2 separate regions of the Homo sapiens genome follow, and region 1 is linked to region 2. The links are contacts of gene promoters, found by promoter capture Hi-C in human tissues and cell types (Jung and others, 2019). All regions are on one chromosome and are shown on one strand. Each heading gives the region's core, a stretch centred on a gene start or on the middle of the fragment in contact. The rest is flanking DNA. Distances are from core to core; before and after follow the strand shown. Region 1 has its middle 47 kb from the start of FGF3. Region 2 holds the start of FGF19 (fibroblast growth factor 19).

What was found. The method cuts DNA at HindIII sites, captures the fragments that hold promoters and counts their contacts. A contact is called where the count stands out against the background at its distance.
Region 1: a fragment that was not itself captured here is called in contact with the fragment with the promoter of FGF19 in region 2 in 2 of the 25 tissues and cell types used here (aorta and bladder).

The regions. Positions count from the first base shown.
Region 1 is chr11:69,864,412-69,868,736 of GRCh38, reverse strand. No RefSeq gene overlaps it. Among named protein-coding and RNA genes, the nearest start is that of FGF3, 47 kb to the right of the region's middle. RefSeq lists enhancers at 2,307-2,864, 2,865-3,422, 3,423-3,980. The HindIII fragment of the contact is 4,926 bases long and covers 1-4,325 here.
Region 2 is chr11:69,702,374-69,706,239 of GRCh38, reverse strand. FGF19 (fibroblast growth factor 19) reads left to right here and starts at 2,218. Exons shown (of 3, transcript NM_005117.3): 1 at 2,218-2,595; 2 at 2,876-2,979. The coding sequence starts at 2,364. RefSeq lists an enhancer at 447-809 and a promoter at 1-2,145. The HindIII fragment of the contact is 36,944 bases long and covers 1-3,866 here.

The DNA of each region.
Region 1 (4,325 bases), core at 1,009-3,508, 160 kb before region 2:
ACAAAGGGGGCTGCGGCCGGGCTGGGGGCTGGCATAGCGAGCCGGCAGCCAAGCAGAACAAATCCTCGGAGGCCTTCCTGTGCCTCCCCCGCGTGCAACCCGAGCTGGTGCGCGGGGCGGCTGCCCGGGGTGGGGGCTCCGCGGCGGCCTTGAGGCAGCAGTGAGTATTCACGGTAATTTGAGGGCTTCCACTGGGGGGTTCCCGATCATTTGATGTGGCAATTAGCAAGGGGACTTTTGTCGTCCGGAAAGACACAACCGCCTACTTCAATCACCCTGTTTATGCCCCCACAGAAGCCAAACAGCCCCAGCGGCAGATAACGGGTGGACTTCAAACGGCTCCAGGTCGGGCGTCCCTGGAACCCAGGCCGTGCTGCACCCCCCCACCTTTCATGCAGCCAAAATGCTCCTTTTCCCATGAGAAATTCCGGCCTTAATGGCACTGGATGACAAAGGCAGGCGCTCGCCCACCTCAAGCCCTTTTTTATGTGGGACCTAGCTCTGCCGGTGGACGGAAGAAGGGGCAAGGCACAAGGGATTCCAAAGGTGCACGGCCCCCATGAGTGGGGTGGGCCAGAGACTCCCTGGGTGCCCACAAGGGCCTGGGTCCCTGTCCCCATACAAGGGGTGGCAGCTCAGGACCTGGGCTTTGCTCTTCTGTTCCCCGTAAACAGCTCCCGCTTCCAGAGGGCGAGTTCGACTTTGAGTCAGATGCAAACTCCCCAGTTGAGGATGGTGACGATGACGATGATGATGTCACCACGCTGCTGCTGGCGGAGCACATGCTGGTGTCAGGCCCTGTGCCAGGCACATCAAACTGGCCTCAGCCGTGAGGGAAGCCTGTTTACACACCAGGCTGGACAAGGTTTTGGGACCAGGTCACGCATGGGGCAGCTGGAGCAGTGGGGCCCGGGCAAAGAGCCAGTGGGAGTCACTGGCCCGGATGCCATCCAGCTGAGTCCCTGGCCTGGCGGCTGAGGACAAGCCTTGAGGTCTCGCTGAGTCTCATCCGATAAATGGAACTCATGAAACCACCAGCCACTGCTGCAGCACAAGGCTGTTGCGAGGAACCACGGAAAAGGCCAAAGTGTTACACAGGGCAAGGCCTCAGCCCGTGCTCAGTGCTTAGAAAAGCTCAGGAAACATCTCCTCTCAGCCTCTGCTTCCCTGCCATGGAAATGCTGATGGAGCATCAGAATGGGGAAGGGGGCCGAACGTGAATGCCTGGTACAGCCGCCTGTGGCTAAGCCTGTGTTGATCTATTCCTCGCTCCCTGTTACTCAGACACGCTCGGGACCTGGCTAGGACCACACCTGATCATCTGACCCCATGGGCTGTGGCAGCAGGAACAAGCAGAGGGAAGAAAACGGTGGTGGGATGTCCAAGCTCATCCCCTTCGCAGCCAGCTGCTACCCACGTGATCATAAAATAGACACACACATGCCCTGTGGGAGGAATAAGCCCATCCGTTGATTGATTGACTCATTTCAAAGCCCTCTCTGTGGCATGCGCTGTGCATAGACTGGTGAACAGGATAGCCCCATCCTGAGTGAATCTGTGCTTGGTGAGAGGCAGGTAATGACGACACAGACAACAGGATGGTTTCGGATTGTGGTCGGTGTGTTAAAGACAGTGAAGCTGGGCGATGGTGGGAGGCGAAGGCGAGGGACATTGAGCCTGGGGAGACCTGTGGGAAGAACACATTTGTCAGCTCAGGAACAGAGAAAGTGTCAGTGTGGCTAAAGCAGTGTGTGGGGGAAGGCATGGGGTGGAGGGCACTGGTGGGGTGACTGACAAAGGCCTGGTTGTAGCAGGCCTTGCATGCCGGCCAAAGGAGCTTGGTTTTAGGCTGAATGCATAGAGGCTATGCAGACATTGCTCCAGCCTTGCAATGCTCCTACTCTAAAGCCTTCAATGGCTCCCTATTGCCTCCCAAAGGACCTCTTTCTTGCACAGGGATTCAAAGCCCTGTACAATCTGGGCCTAACACCCCTGATGATCAAAACTCCAGACATTCCGTTTAAGCTTCAGCCCACCGAGAGCCTCCCTGGCTCCTAAATGTCTCCCTTGTCCTGCCTCTGCACTGTTGCTAAGCCACGCTTCTGTCCAGAATGTCACAGGGAGCAAATGTCTTTCCACCAGAAACTGCACCATTCATTAAGGCCCTGTGAAAACCTCGACATCCCAGGAGGCTGCCCCAGCACCTTGCCCAGGCTGTCTGACACTGTCCAGTCTCCGTGGGTAAATTGCTGTGTGGCCTTAGGTGAGGCGTTGACTTCTCTTATCCTTCTCTGTAAAATGGGATAATAATAGTAACTACCTCCTGGGGTTGTTGCTAGGATTAAATGAAGATAAGGCACTATTAGAAATGGGAAACGGTTGGCATCACCATATTTTATAGAATATAAGGTATCACCAATTGTTGTAAGATACAACATTATTTTATACTCCACTAAGGGTGGAAAAAAGCTGATAGACCACGACACACTCCAGAAAGGCCCTTTAAGTGAGCAGAGGAGTTTGAGAACTGTCAGAATGTTAAGCTAAAGAAGCACAAGGACATATGTAGGCCCCAAGGAGCCTCTGGTGGCCATCTTTCTGAAATTCTGCCCTTGGAATTCTGAAGCTCGGAAAGACTGGCAAAAGCTACCCGTTTTTCCAGATGGAGAAACTGAGGCACAAAGAGGAGGAGGTCAAGCTTGTGATCACATGATGCGTTGAGCCTTTGAGCTGCAGATGGAATTGTGAGCATGGGGTGAGGGGCCTCCCTGGGGCATTGCCTGTTCCCAGAGGTGCCAGAGGCCACCGTGCTCCATGCTTTTCCTCCCCCACAGCCTGGCCACTGCAAGCCCCTACTCCTGCCATTTCTCCTGCTGCACCTCCGCCCCCACCCGCCATTGCATGCTCAGTGGCAGTCCTGGCAAATGTCTAGGAAATAGAGTTTTCAGGGGTCAGTTCTCATGGTAAACATAAGAATCAGGGGGTCAGGGTTGACCTCAGGGATCCTGGGGTGAGCCCTTTTGTGACACCCCCGCCTTCCACACATCCACTTACTTAGTTCGAAGTCACATCTCCTGGGTGCAGCCAAAGGGAAATGGAGATAAAACACCGAGAGTTGTGGGCCAGCAGGGGAGATGGGCAGGTAAACAGCAGGAGCTTACTGGGACACCAGCAGGGGAGGGGGGATCTGGGCAGACTTCCTGGAGGAGGTGGCTGTGGTGGAGTCGAGCCCCGCAGGTGGACAGAAAGGTGGGCTGCAGCAGGCCAGGTGCTGGCAGGAAGCACGGCCCGGCTTGTCTCTTGCAGGCCCGTGGGATTCCACTCCAGGGTGCTGCTCTCAGGACGGAGGCTTGAGTCGGTTCTGGCCCCTGGTTTCTTCTCTTCAATACGCCCACCTTGTCGGGTGCCTTGGGTTCTCCCTCCACGGGAGCCTGTTGTATGCGGGGCTCCCACAGCTGTCTCATGACTGGGCCCAAGCCAAAGAGAGGGGCTGAGAACCCAGCTTTGTGACTCACCGGCTGTGTGACCGTGAGTAGGAAGCCACCCCTCTCTGGGCTGACAGCACCTTGCTCCTGATGTCCAGAGCTCAGGCCATCACCCCGTCCTTGCCAGTATCTCCACCCCAGTGAGAGAGGAAACGGATGCCAACCCGGGGCTCTGACCCCCAAAGGCCAGGCTCTTTTCAGTCCCTGTGCACCCGCCACCCACTCACATCCATGCCCCAGCGGCTGCCTCTGCAGTCCCAGGGACCCTCCTGGCTGAGCCTCCCCCCATCACCCCATCCACCATTCTGTGCTGGGCACGAGCTCGGTCTCCACCATGGGAAGGTGCCCAGCCAGCCCTGGGCTTCACCTCCAGCAGCTGCCTCTGCCTACAGTCTCTCCTGCATCCCCACTCCCGGGCATGGCTGGGCTCTTCTCCACCCTCTGCTCAGAGGTCACCCTCCCGCCCTAACGCTGCTTCCACGTCCCCCTCCTACGCTGCTCCAGCTGCCTCCTGCTCACCTCTGCTTTACTTTCTTCCTCTCGCTTCTCCCCTCCCCAGAAACCAGACTGGGCACTGGTTCCCTCCCTCCCTGTGGTGTGAGCTCAGGGAAGGAGAGACCACGTGGATGGGTCCCACGGCACCTCCAGCCCTCAGAACGCACCTAGCATGGCCTTCTCTCTATTTCCTTGTATTTTCAATGATTTCACCCAAGACCAGAGATGCGGAGGGGCCTTCCCGAGGTCACACTGCAGGTCAAAGGGGCCTCCCTGGGGCTCTCTGCCCATTCCTAGAGGTGGCAGAGGCCACCGTGCTCCCTGCCTTTCCTCCCCCACAGCCTG
Region 2 (3,866 bases), core at 969-3,468:
TCACCCTCAGGACAAGCCTGAGAGCAAGCTGAGAGGGCAATGGGTCAGCGGTCCACGACCTACCCAGGGAGTGGCCGGGTGTGATCCATGCTACAGTGGGTCTGACCCCGGAGCCCCTGTCCCGGGATAAGACGCAGCACAGCCTGGATTTACGAGCCCCACTGTTTGGGTTCAAATTCCAACTTCACCACTAACAGAGTGTGCGACCTTGGGTTACTCGGCCACTTTTCTGGGGCCATTTCCCTCCTGCTCCATGGGGGAGGGAGGAATAGAATACTGTGGGGGCTCTTGTGGAGATTTGAGCTGAGAACCTCCATGAAGCGCTCAGAACAGGGGCTGGGGGACAGCAGCCGCCTTCCTCATTTCCCCACCTCCCTGATCGCATCAGCCACTCTCTTCCCCATGTCCCTGGAAGGGGCTGCAGAGGGGTAGGGGTGGAACCAGAGGCTGCCATCGCCCCCACCCGGTTTGGGTCGTGTCCCCCAGTGCAGCCTCTGCCATCGCCCTCAAGAGCATTTATCACGCATTTACCACGGATCTTTAAAACGAAAGCTGCAGGGGAGGGTAATTAAGTTTAATAGGAGCCGCCGTCGATTTAAAGCCACAGGGGGGAAGTAATTAGATTTAACAGAAGCCACGGCTTTCTGAACCAAGACACACAGCGTGGGGGTCCCTGGTCTAGAAAGCCTTCGGGATGATGTCTTTTTGTAAAGACTTTCCTGGTGACATTTGCTGCGCCCTCAGTCATTAACGCCAGTCACTGACTGGGGAATGAATGTGGCCTCTGCTCATTGAAATTCATTAGGCCTGGCATTTCTCTCGCTGTCTCTCCTGTTTGCCCTCCCCATCGCCTTTGCGCTGGGCCAGGAGGGCTCTGCCCCCAAAACCAGCCTCCTGGGGCCCCACATCCAGGAGCTGGGGGTTTGGAAGAATAACAAGAAATAATTAGAGTTAAACCAAAGCCCCGTAGGAGGACCCCTTTATTCCCCGCCTGGGTATTCTCTGGATGTCGTTTTCTTTATTGGCAGGAACCGCTTCATGGAGCGGCCCCCATTTCTTTCCTCACCTGGCACCTGCCCGGACGCCAGGGGCGCCCATCACCGTTCCTGGGCCCCTTCCCGACCCCTCCCCACCAGGTAAGGCGCTCTCGACCTCCCCGACCGTGCTGTTCCTCCTGACCCCGTGCGCAGGGACTCGGGGACTCAAAAACCAGACCCCCGACACAAGACAGCTCAAAAAACGGGAAACGGAGGCCCAGGCCTCCCTCCCTGCGCCCCTGCCTCCACCACCCTCCAGCCGAGAAGCTGGGGTTCACCAATCCCGCAGCTGGCCCGCCCACCCTGCCCGAGAGCCTCCTTCCCAGTGCCCCCTTTCAGGTTGCATCTCGCGCACAGCCGCGGGGCCGGGGCGAGCGCGGAGCAGGCAGGGGCGCGGGGCCAGGAGCGCAAAGCCCAGGCGGACGCCGAGGCTGCGGCGCCACCTACAGTCCGCGCGGCTTCCATTGTTTCCCCGCCGGCCGAGAGCGCGCCCGGCCCCCCGTCGGGGGGCAATTTACCCGGATAAAAGGGGCGGGGCAGGAATTGCAAGAAGATGAAGCTGAAAGAACCTGAGACTGTCGGAACTGCCGGGGAAAATTCTACGGGACGGCTTTGACGTCAGATGTGCGGGGCTGCGAAAGTCGGGGGAGGGAGTGCGAGTGGGCTTTTAAGGGGAAGGGCACTAAGGCCGAGGTGAGGCTTTTCCCGACAGAGGGTGAAGGGGGCAAAACTCGGTGCCCCCCAACCTCTGGCCCCGGGGTTCCTGACCCCGCCCCCGCTAGTGCCCCACGCCGAGTGCATCCACTGGGAGCCTGAGGCCTGGGGGAAGGGCCCCAGTTGTCGATTGCTTTACAAAGTCAAACTCTCCCAGCCAAGAACCTCGGGGCCGCTGCGCGGTGGGGAGGAGTTCCCCGAAACCCGGCCGCTAAGCGAGGCCTCCTCCTCCCGCAGATCCGAACGGCCTGGGCGGGGTCACCCCGGCTGGGACAAGAAGCCGCCGCCTGCCTGCCCGGGCCCGGGGAGGGGGCTGGGGCTGGGGCCGGAGGCGGGGTGTGAGTGGGTGTGTGCGGGGGGCGGAGGCTTGATGCAATCCCGATAAGAAATGCTCGGGTGTCTTGGGCACCTACCCGTGGGGCCCGTAAGGCGCTACTATATAAGGCTGCCGGCCCGGAGCCGCCGCGCCGTCAGAGCAGGAGCGCTGCGTCCAGGATCTAGGGCCACGACCATCCCAACCCGGCACTCACAGCCCCGCAGCGCATCCCGGTCGCCGCCCAGCCTCCCGCACCCCCATCGCCGGAGCTGCGCCGAGAGCCCCAGGGAGGTGCCATGCGGAGCGGGTGTGTGGTGGTCCACGTATGGATCCTGGCCGGCCTCTGGCTGGCCGTGGCCGGGCGCCCCCTCGCCTTCTCGGACGCGGGGCCCCACGTGCACTACGGCTGGGGCGACCCCATCCGCCTGCGGCACCTGTACACCTCCGGCCCCCACGGGCTCTCCAGCTGCTTCCTGCGCATCCGTGCCGACGGCGTCGTGGACTGCGCGCGGGGCCAGAGCGCGCACAGTGAGTGCCCGCCAGCACCCCCGCCCGCCCCGCCGCGCGCACCCCACCCCGCTGCGCGCGCCCCACCCCAGCGCCCTTCCTTCCTTTGCCACCCTTAGGCTCCTGCGGACCCCTCAACTCCTGGGAACCCCAGGTTTTGGCACCTGGACGTTAGGATCCCTCCGTTAGTCCCCAAACAGCGCGGGACGCTAGGGAGAAGCACAGGCTTGTGGACCGACCGCACCCACGTGGTGCGGGCCCAGCGGTCCTTGCTGCAGCTTCTCGCTTCCCCTGCGCCTAGGTTTGCTGGAGATCAAGGCAGTCGCTCTGCGGACCGTGGCCATCAAGGGCGTGCACAGCGTGCGGTACCTCTGCATGGGCGCCGACGGCAAGATGCAGGGGCTGGTAAGTGTCCCCACGGGGCGGATGCGCCGGGGCGGGGGACCGGCGCCTGTCCCCGGGCGGAGGCCTGAAGGAGAGAAAGGCGCTGGTTCGAATCCAGGGTTTCCTCGCCTCCTCCGCCCAGACCCGCGTGCAACTTCGAGGGAAAGATTGCAAAGACCGATTAAGTGCATGTCCGACGATTTCCTACGGAAATTTAGGGTCTCAGCCAGCAGCCAGAGAATAGGCAAAAGCTGCCTTTGCATTTCCAATTGAGTCAAAGGCCGGCCTAGCCGGACCGAGGAAACCCATTATTCGGCCTCCTTTGATATTAAACAGGAAAACCCACCTCGGGCCTTTTCAGCCTCTGCCTGCGCGTGTGTGGTCCTCGCCTCCGTTTCCCTCCCTCCAGTATAAAAGAAGAAAAAAAGAATGGGAAAGAAAAAAGAGGATCTACCCATAACTTTCCTTTAAAAACAAATCAATTGTCAAGCAAGGCAGAAAACAGTGCATTTGGGATAGGAGAGATTTTTTTTTTAGAATTAATTTTTAATCTACCAGGAGCACGGTGTGGCTTAGACGCAGATGCGCTGGAGTCATGTTGCGCCAGGGGAGTGCTTTTCCTCCTGCGGGCCTCACCTGTCCTGTAAACGCTTTCTGGTGGGGGCAGGGGGTGGGGGCTGGCAGGGAAGGCCCAGGTAACCGCAGAGGTCCCGGGGCCGGAAGTGTACGAGCGCTGGGGCTCTGGTGGCCGGGAACAAAGGCTGGGAGTTCAAAGGAACGAACCCGCGCCCCTCCCGCGGCCCCGCGCGCAGAGGAGGCTGTGTGAGGTCTCGGCCCGCGCAGGCCTCACACGCAGCCCCGGACTCCCTGGCGGAGCAGGGGCCAGGGCGGGGGTGGCCGCGCCTGCC